2 separate regions of the Homo sapiens genome follow, and region 1 is linked to region 2. Evidence: promoter capture Hi-C in 16 types of primary human blood cells and fetal thymus (Javierre and others, 2016). All regions are on one chromosome and are shown on one strand. Each heading gives the region's core, a stretch centred on a gene start or on the middle of the fragment in contact. The rest is flanking DNA. Distances are from core to core; before and after follow the strand shown. Region 1 holds the start of ABCB10 (ATP binding cassette subfamily B member 10). Region 2 overlaps PARP1 (poly(ADP-ribose) polymerase 1).

What was found. Contacts are between HindIII fragments. The CHiCAGO score rates a contact against its expected background, and 5 or more counts as called.
Region 1: the fragment with the promoter of ABCB10 here is called in contact with a fragment that was not itself captured in region 2 in 1 of 17 cell types (non-activated CD4 T cells); the score reaches 5.5 in non-activated CD4 T cells.

Annotation. Positions count from the first base shown.
Region 1 is chr1:229,557,257-229,560,836 of GRCh38, forward strand. It overlaps ABCB10 (ATP binding cassette subfamily B member 10), which reads right to left and starts at 1,451. Exons shown (of 13, transcript NM_012089.3): 1 at 880-1,451. The coding sequence starts at 1,396. RefSeq lists silencers at 661-1,110, 1,171-1,870 and an enhancer at 2,041-2,230. The HindIII fragment of the contact is 4,467 bases long and covers 1-3,580 here.
Region 2 is chr1:226,404,438-226,407,973 of GRCh38, forward strand. It overlaps PARP1 (poly(ADP-ribose) polymerase 1), which reads right to left. Exons shown (of 23, transcript NM_001618.4): 1 at 3,373-3,536. The coding sequence starts at 3,492. Among named protein-coding and RNA genes, the nearest start is that of PARP1, 1.9 kb to the right of the region's middle. RefSeq lists an enhancer at 2,221-2,280 and a silencer at 3,231-3,330. The HindIII fragment of the contact is 437 bases long and covers 2,069-2,505 here.

The DNA of each region.
Region 1 (3,580 bases), core at 201-2,700, 3.2 Mb after region 2:
CCCACAGGTGCAGGTTTACCTCTATACATACGAATATTTCATAGATGCTTCTCCCCACTAACCTAGAAGCCCCAGCAGAAGTGAGGACCATGTTTCCTTGTGCATGCCACTGTAAACCCAGGGCCCAGTCCAGAATGAGGGCTCAACAGATGTTTATAGAAGGAGTGAAGATTTAGAGAAATCGAAAAAATTTTAGATCTTACAAGGCCCTTGCATCTAAACACTCCTCCAATTATGGCTAAAAAATGAGGAGCTATAGAAAACTGTCCTATTTAAATTTTGTTTCTAAAAACATTCATTTTGGCTTCTTTTAAAAAAGTTACTCAATTACTGAACAGATCACTGGTGTGGCCTGTTGAACACAGTGCTGTAACTTCCTGCACAAGAGACAAGTCTGAAAGTTTTGCTTTCCGCTGTGAAAGCATTGGTGACTGCTTGACAGACTCGCTTGAAGCAAATAATGTGTTTTTGGTTAAAAAAAAAAAGTATAAACGCCTAATAACAAAATAGGCATATTTTTGGCTAGAATTTTTTTTTCCAAGGAAAAACCTCCAGCTCATTTTGCTGCCTAAGCCAAAACAGATGCTCCCACTAAGTTGGTGGTGGAACAGACCCAAAGATTCCAATAATGACATATATAACGTGTGTCAACAAGAAAACAAGTGTAAAATCTGCAAACGAGTCCCCAGCTAAGGCGAAATCTTGACAACGCTACTCTGAGGTGAGCGATCCCCTCCCTCCTCCGGGGTTAGGAGTGGCCCAGGAGAGGCGGCGGTGACACGCGCTCTGCGGCCCGGCCGTGTCCCTCTCGGCGCCCCGGGACCCCGCGTGTGGAGAAGGAGAGGCCCGGCGGAGGGAAGTGGCCGGGGAGGACCCTACCTGCCAGCCTCCGGCGCTCAGGGTACGCCAGCCCCAGGAGCTTCCGGGCCTCCGGGAGTCCGGCCGCTGCGGGGCGCAGCCGCCCCTTGTCCCCGGGAGGCGCCGCCGGCCCGCGCCGCCAGGCCTCGTCCCCTGCCCAGGCAGCGGCTGCGGGACCGCCCGGGAACCGGGCGCGCGGGAGCCGAGGAGCGCCTGGCCCGGCAAAAGCCCCGCACCTGCAGCTGCCGGGGCCGCGAGCCCACAGCCCCAGGAGCCGCGCGAGGCCCAGGACGCCCCGCGAGGCGCCCGGACCCCCGCCCCGGCAGCCGCTCCTCCAGCGGCGCGCGGCTCCAACGCCCCAGAGCAGCGCGGGCCCCGCGCCCCATAGCCGCGCCGGCCTCAGGCCAGTGAACGGCGATAGGGACCCGGGAACGCGGCTGGCCGCGGCCCACACGCAGGCTACCGGCAGGAGCCGACCTGGCTCGGCAGGGCTCGGTGGCTCGAGCAGCCGCAGCGGCCAGGCAGGGGGGCCTCGCATGGCGCTGCGTGCGACCCGTACGCCTCAGCCCGCCGGCCAGGCGCGCGCAAAGCCCGAGGACCCTCCCGGCCCGGCCCCGAGCAAAGGGCGTGGACGCGGTGGCGCCCGCCCCTCCCCGCTGGCTGTCACCCGCCTTATCGTGCCTGCACCCTCGGGCTGCGCCCGCCCCCGCCCCATCCTCGTCCGCGCGGTGCCGCGCCTCTCCGCCCCACTCCGGGGACTGCAGCTACCCGGACCTTGCAAGCCACCCTTCCGAGCGCCCCCAACCCGCTCGGGTGCCCTCCCTGCAGCGCCCCCAACTGCCCGCTGGCGGAGGAGCGCCGGGCGCGCCAGCTGGGACGAGGCCCGGGAAGCCCAGGAGCACGGCTGCGCCTGCGTACTGGGCGCAGGGAACTTTTTCGCGCTTCGCCGTCCCCTCTGGTCTGAACTTGGGAACGACACGAGCTCTTTCTCACGCCGGCAGACCGGGCGGAGCGCGCAGACGCGACCACACGATGGCCGGCACAAAGATGGGGCGGGAGGACAGCGTGCTGGATACGGCGTGGGGCGGGTCCGCGGCCCGGGAGACCCATGCTGGGGCGGCCCTGTCACTCGTCTCGCTGCCAAGCACAGGGCTGAGGTGCGGAGGGACCACTGAGAGGACTTCGCTGCGTGTCAGCTCAGCTCTGGACGGCGTGGAGGAGGTGGTTGGCGAATAGTGAAATGTATATAACTTTGAGAAGGGAAGAGATCGTTTCTTTTTTTTCTTTTTTTTTTTTTTCTTGAGACGATCTCGGCTCACTGCAACCTCTGCCTCCCAGGTTCAAGTGATTCTCCCTTCTCAGCCTCCCAAGTAGCTGGGATTACAGGCATACGCCACCACACCCGGCTGATTTTGTATTTTTAGTAGAGACGGGGTTTTACCATGTTGGTCAGGCTCTTTTCGAACTCCTGACCTCAGGTGATCCGCCCGCGTCAGCCTCCCAAAGTGCTGGGATTGCAGGCGTGAGCCACCGTGCCCGGCCTGAGATCGTTTCTTAACTAGAGCAGAAATTTGAAGACAGGCGTGGTCGAGGCATTCCCGCTGTTCGAAGTGGAAAACACTAATCAGAAGGCAATGCATCTTAATACACGTGCATGGAAAGACAGGAGAGAACATTAAAACTCACTGGGACACTTTATGGAGACTTCATGGGGGCGGGGGGGGATATGTACCTGAGGTCCAGTGAGTCGTGGGTAGATTTTTGTAGACTCCTAGGTATTTTTACTGGACCTGGACAGGGTACTGTCAGTTGCAAATTTTATGGGTTCACAAAATAAAAAAACCTCAATAATCAACATAAACATTTTAGTGCAATATTTTTAAAAATCAAAATTAATTTAAAAAATCCGTAATGAACAAAATATAAAAAATTTTGATTGAGTATCCACTCCTGACCTTTCACAATCCTGCCTCTCTTCTCTCGCTCTAATCCCAGCCCTGGAAACTTTATTTACAAAAACTGACAGCAGCTGCCCTTAGTTTGGCAGCTGGAAAATGGGAAAGAGAAAGTAAGAGGAAGGTGAGATTTGGGTTAAAGTTGTCACTTTCTCTTCAACTGGGAGGGTATCAATCCTTGATGTTTCTTTAGTTGGGCTCAAAAAGGAGGTAGCGGCCGGGCGCGGTGGCTCACACCTGTAATCCCAACATTTTGGGAGGCTGAGGCGGGCGAATCACGAGGTCAGGAGTTCGAGACCAGCCTGACCGACGTGGTGAAACCCCGTCCCTACTAAAAATACAAAAATTAGCCAGGTGTGGTGGAGCGTGCCTGTAATCCCAGCTACGCAGGAGGCTGAGGCAGGAGAATTGCTTGAACCCGGGAGGCGGAGGTTGCAGTGAGCTGAGATGGTGCCACACCGCACTCCAGCCTGGGAGACAGAGCAAGACTCCGTCTCAAAAAAAAAAAAGAAAAGAAAAAAAAAGAGGAGGTAGCGGCCAGGCGGTGGCTCACACCTGTAATCCCAACATTCTAGGAGGCCGAGGCGGGCGGATCACTCCAGGTCTGGAGTTTGAGACCAGCCTGGCCAACATGGTGAAACTCCATCCCTACTGAAAATACAAAAATTAGCTGGGCTTGGTGGTGCATGCCTGTAGTCTCAGCTACTTGGGACGCTGAGGGAGCATAATCGGTTGAATCCAGGAGGTGGAGGTTGCAGTGAGCTGAG
Region 2 (3,536 bases), core at 1,037-3,536:
GTTCCAGTTACCCTTGTATAAAGAGCACAGGTAATGGCTATGGCACTTCTTCCTGGCTCTGCCAGGGGCCCCAGACCTGCTGCCCTTTGGTCTGGGTGCTGTCTCCCCCAACCACCGGCACAGTGCTGGACACCCTGGAGGTGCTGCCCAATGGTGCAATCACAGCACAAGCTTAGAGGACAAGAGCCTCAGCAGAAGCACCCCTGACCAAAGCAATGCTTTGCCCTAAACTCAGGACTGAGAATGATGTGGCAGAAAGGCACCAAACCAAGGTCACAAGACTATCGACTCCATTTGTTAGCTGCACAGCTGAGGCAAGGCACAGAATCTTTGGCTGTGCACCCAAGCAAAAACTGAGCACCTAACATACCAGGGTCCTCACCCAACCAGCAGCTGGTGAACTGGGTTCCCTTCTGTGCAGAACAGGCCATGCTACCTGTCCACCTAGGCCACAGAGAGAATGAACTGACCTCACTGCATGCCTCCGGGTGCTCAAACCCTCCCAGGACAGAGCAACTCAAAGGTCTACCGCCATCCTCCTCCCACCAAAATGCTGGAGGGCCCAGCTCATCCCTCCCAAGATGCCCCAGGCATGAGGGCTAAAGTGTCAGGTATCAGATACTCAGAGAACAATACTCCCATGTAAATGTAAAAGAAGGTATTTAAATTCAAGCAAGTGAAAAGGCTTCTTTCTTTTTGGCCTTCACCAGCTCAGTCTACCAGACCAACTTTAAATTCTGAATTAAAACTCTGAATCCACCCTTAATCACCATTACATAAAAATCACAGTTACTTTTAATAATAAAGAGTTTCTTTCACTATCAAGTATACCAAAGGAAAGCCCAGAATGTTGTTATTACTATTTTTTTTTTCAGACAGGGTCTGGGTCTGGGTCTGGGTCTGTCGCCCAGGCTGGAGTGCAGTGGCACTATCTCAGCTCACTGCAACCTCCACCTCCCAGGCTCAAGCAATCTTCCAGCTTCAGCCTCCGGAGTAGCTGGGACTTAACAGGCACGCACCACCACGACCCGCTAATCATTGCATTTTTTTGTAGAGACAGGTTTCACCATGTTGGCCAGGCTGGTCTCAAACTGCTGAGCTTAAGTAATCTGCCCACCCCAGCCTCCCAAAGTGCTGAGATTACAAGCATGCGCCACCAAGCCCGGCCCCAGAATGCTAAACTTGATCAGGTTCAGTTTCCTCCATCCGGCCTCCCCCACAGCTAAGCCTCCTCTAACTTCCTCCACAGCGGTGTTGTTCTAGCCTCAACACAGTCTGGACTTGGGTTTTGTTTGTCTTTCCACCAGAACACGGTACTCTGCCCACCTGTTAAGGCGCCTGGATGTCCCTTTCTCAGAATAACATTTAAAAATGCGTAATAAAAAGGCTCGCAAATGGCCAGTCACGGTGGCTCATGCCTGTAACCCTAGCACTTTGTGGGGCCGAGGTGCATGGATCGCTTGAGCTCAGGAGTTTGAGACCAGCCTGGGCAACATAGTGAGACCCCATCTCAAAAAACAAAACAAACAAAAAGGCTCGAAAAGGAAACACTGAGATAATTATCAAAACATTTGAAAGGTAATTTGGGTACAGTAACCCGTGAGCTTTTAAGCATTAAATAACAAGATCTAGTACAGCCTCTAATAACTGTGATTTTTGTAGCAATGAGAGTAAATTATATTTTGAAAAACTTCCAACTGTAAAGTGATATGAAAATATCTGTAATTATCACTGGTGAAAAAAAAATAGGGACTGCTAATATGCCTTTGCTTTGCTGCTTACATTTATGATTAGAGGAAATAATTTTATCTAGAGGTTAGTGGAGATGGAGATATCAATTTTTTCTTATCTAAACTCATGGACCTCTTGCCTTCTACCTACCATCCCACAGACCCTGGGTTAAGAGCTCCTGCACCAGGAGTGAGAACTTCATAACAGGCTGCCTTGTATATTCAAAGTAAGTTCTAGGTTCCTTAGTGGGCAACAAGGCTCTTCAAATTGTAGGCCCTGTCTACTTCCCTATTCTCATCTTTCTGCTCCACTTCTGTGAATTAACGACTCCTAATCAAGCTTCCACCCTTAGCTGGGTCATCTCGGACTCCTAGGCACACAATGCCTAGAGCACAGCTCCATCAGGTGGCATCCATCCTCTCTTACGGTAACGTTTGTTTACCAGTCATTTCCCGTTTAACCAAACTGGAAATTCCCAAAGGTGGATTCTGTGTCCTTAAAACCTAACAGAGTGCTTAGAACTTAAAAAATGCCTACCAAATAAGCACTGTGTGCCACGTACTGACTTAGGTATGCCCCGAGGACACCAAGATGACAGGCATATTGTGAAATAAGATAACGGAAGTACACCTGGCACTTGGGTATCCACTCGGTAAATGTCGCCCTCCCTTGTACTAAGTACTGAAAATCCACTGAGGGATATCTGGTCATTCCTAAAACACATTACAGCTCATGGAAGGGAGGAAAATCAAGCTACCTTGACCATGAGCACTAAGCTTGGGTAATATGTTGGAAGCGAGGAGGAACAGGGCAGATGAGAACCAGAATTATTAATACAAAGGTAGACATCGGCAAACTGGAAGCTGGAGGCAGGAGCCCCTGGGAAATGACAGGGGCCTTCAAGCCCACCACCTCACAGAAGGCTCAGGAAACCTCAGAAGGGGATTCAATCTATCAAAAAGCCCACATGAGAAACCCCCCTGGAGCCACTCTTACTCAAACCAGACAGCTGCAAATGCACCAAGAGAACGCGTCTGTGAATCTGGAAAATTTGGGGAAAATGTTACTTTAAAGCACAAATTAGGCTCAAAGTGAATGTACTGTACAGAAATGACACCTTTCTGCATAGTTCTGCCTAATTAAAATAAAAAATGAGAGTGAGCGTTTAAATGACGTGTTGAAATGACTGCCAAAAATAGGTTTAACAAAAAAAAAAAAAACCCACATGTCAGTCGCCACCATCCATGTAGAACAAAAACCCTCCAGAACAAGATAGGTCAAAATCAGATTAGCTTAAAGAGACCATGTACAATTCCCCCCCAACCCCTGAGGCGAACGGCAGTAATAAAACACCGCCACCCAGAAAGGAGAAGAGAAGAGGCTCCTCGTTTTCACAAAGCGAAAGGCAACACCAGCTGCAGACTTTATTTCCCGGGCTTTTCCTGCAACATCAGCAAAACCTTCCGGAAGGGTCGGCCGGGCCGCTCGGGAGGAGGGGCGGCCGCGGCCCCATAGGCCCCAAGTGCCGCTCCGAGGGCCCGGGCCCGCTCGCTCCCTGGGCCCGCCCTCCCCCAGCCTTCCCGGACACAGTTAACCCGGGGCGCCGCGTCCCCGCCCCGCCGCCCGCACAGCGGCCCGCACCTGCACCATGATGGCCATCCGGAGCGAGTCCTTGGGGATGCTCTCGCTGCATTTCTTGCAAGAGGCGCGCCCGCTCTTGGCGTACTCGACTCGATAGAGCTTATCCGAAGACTCCGCCATCCTCCCCTAGCTGCCGCCAAAGCTCCGGAAGCCCGACGCCACGA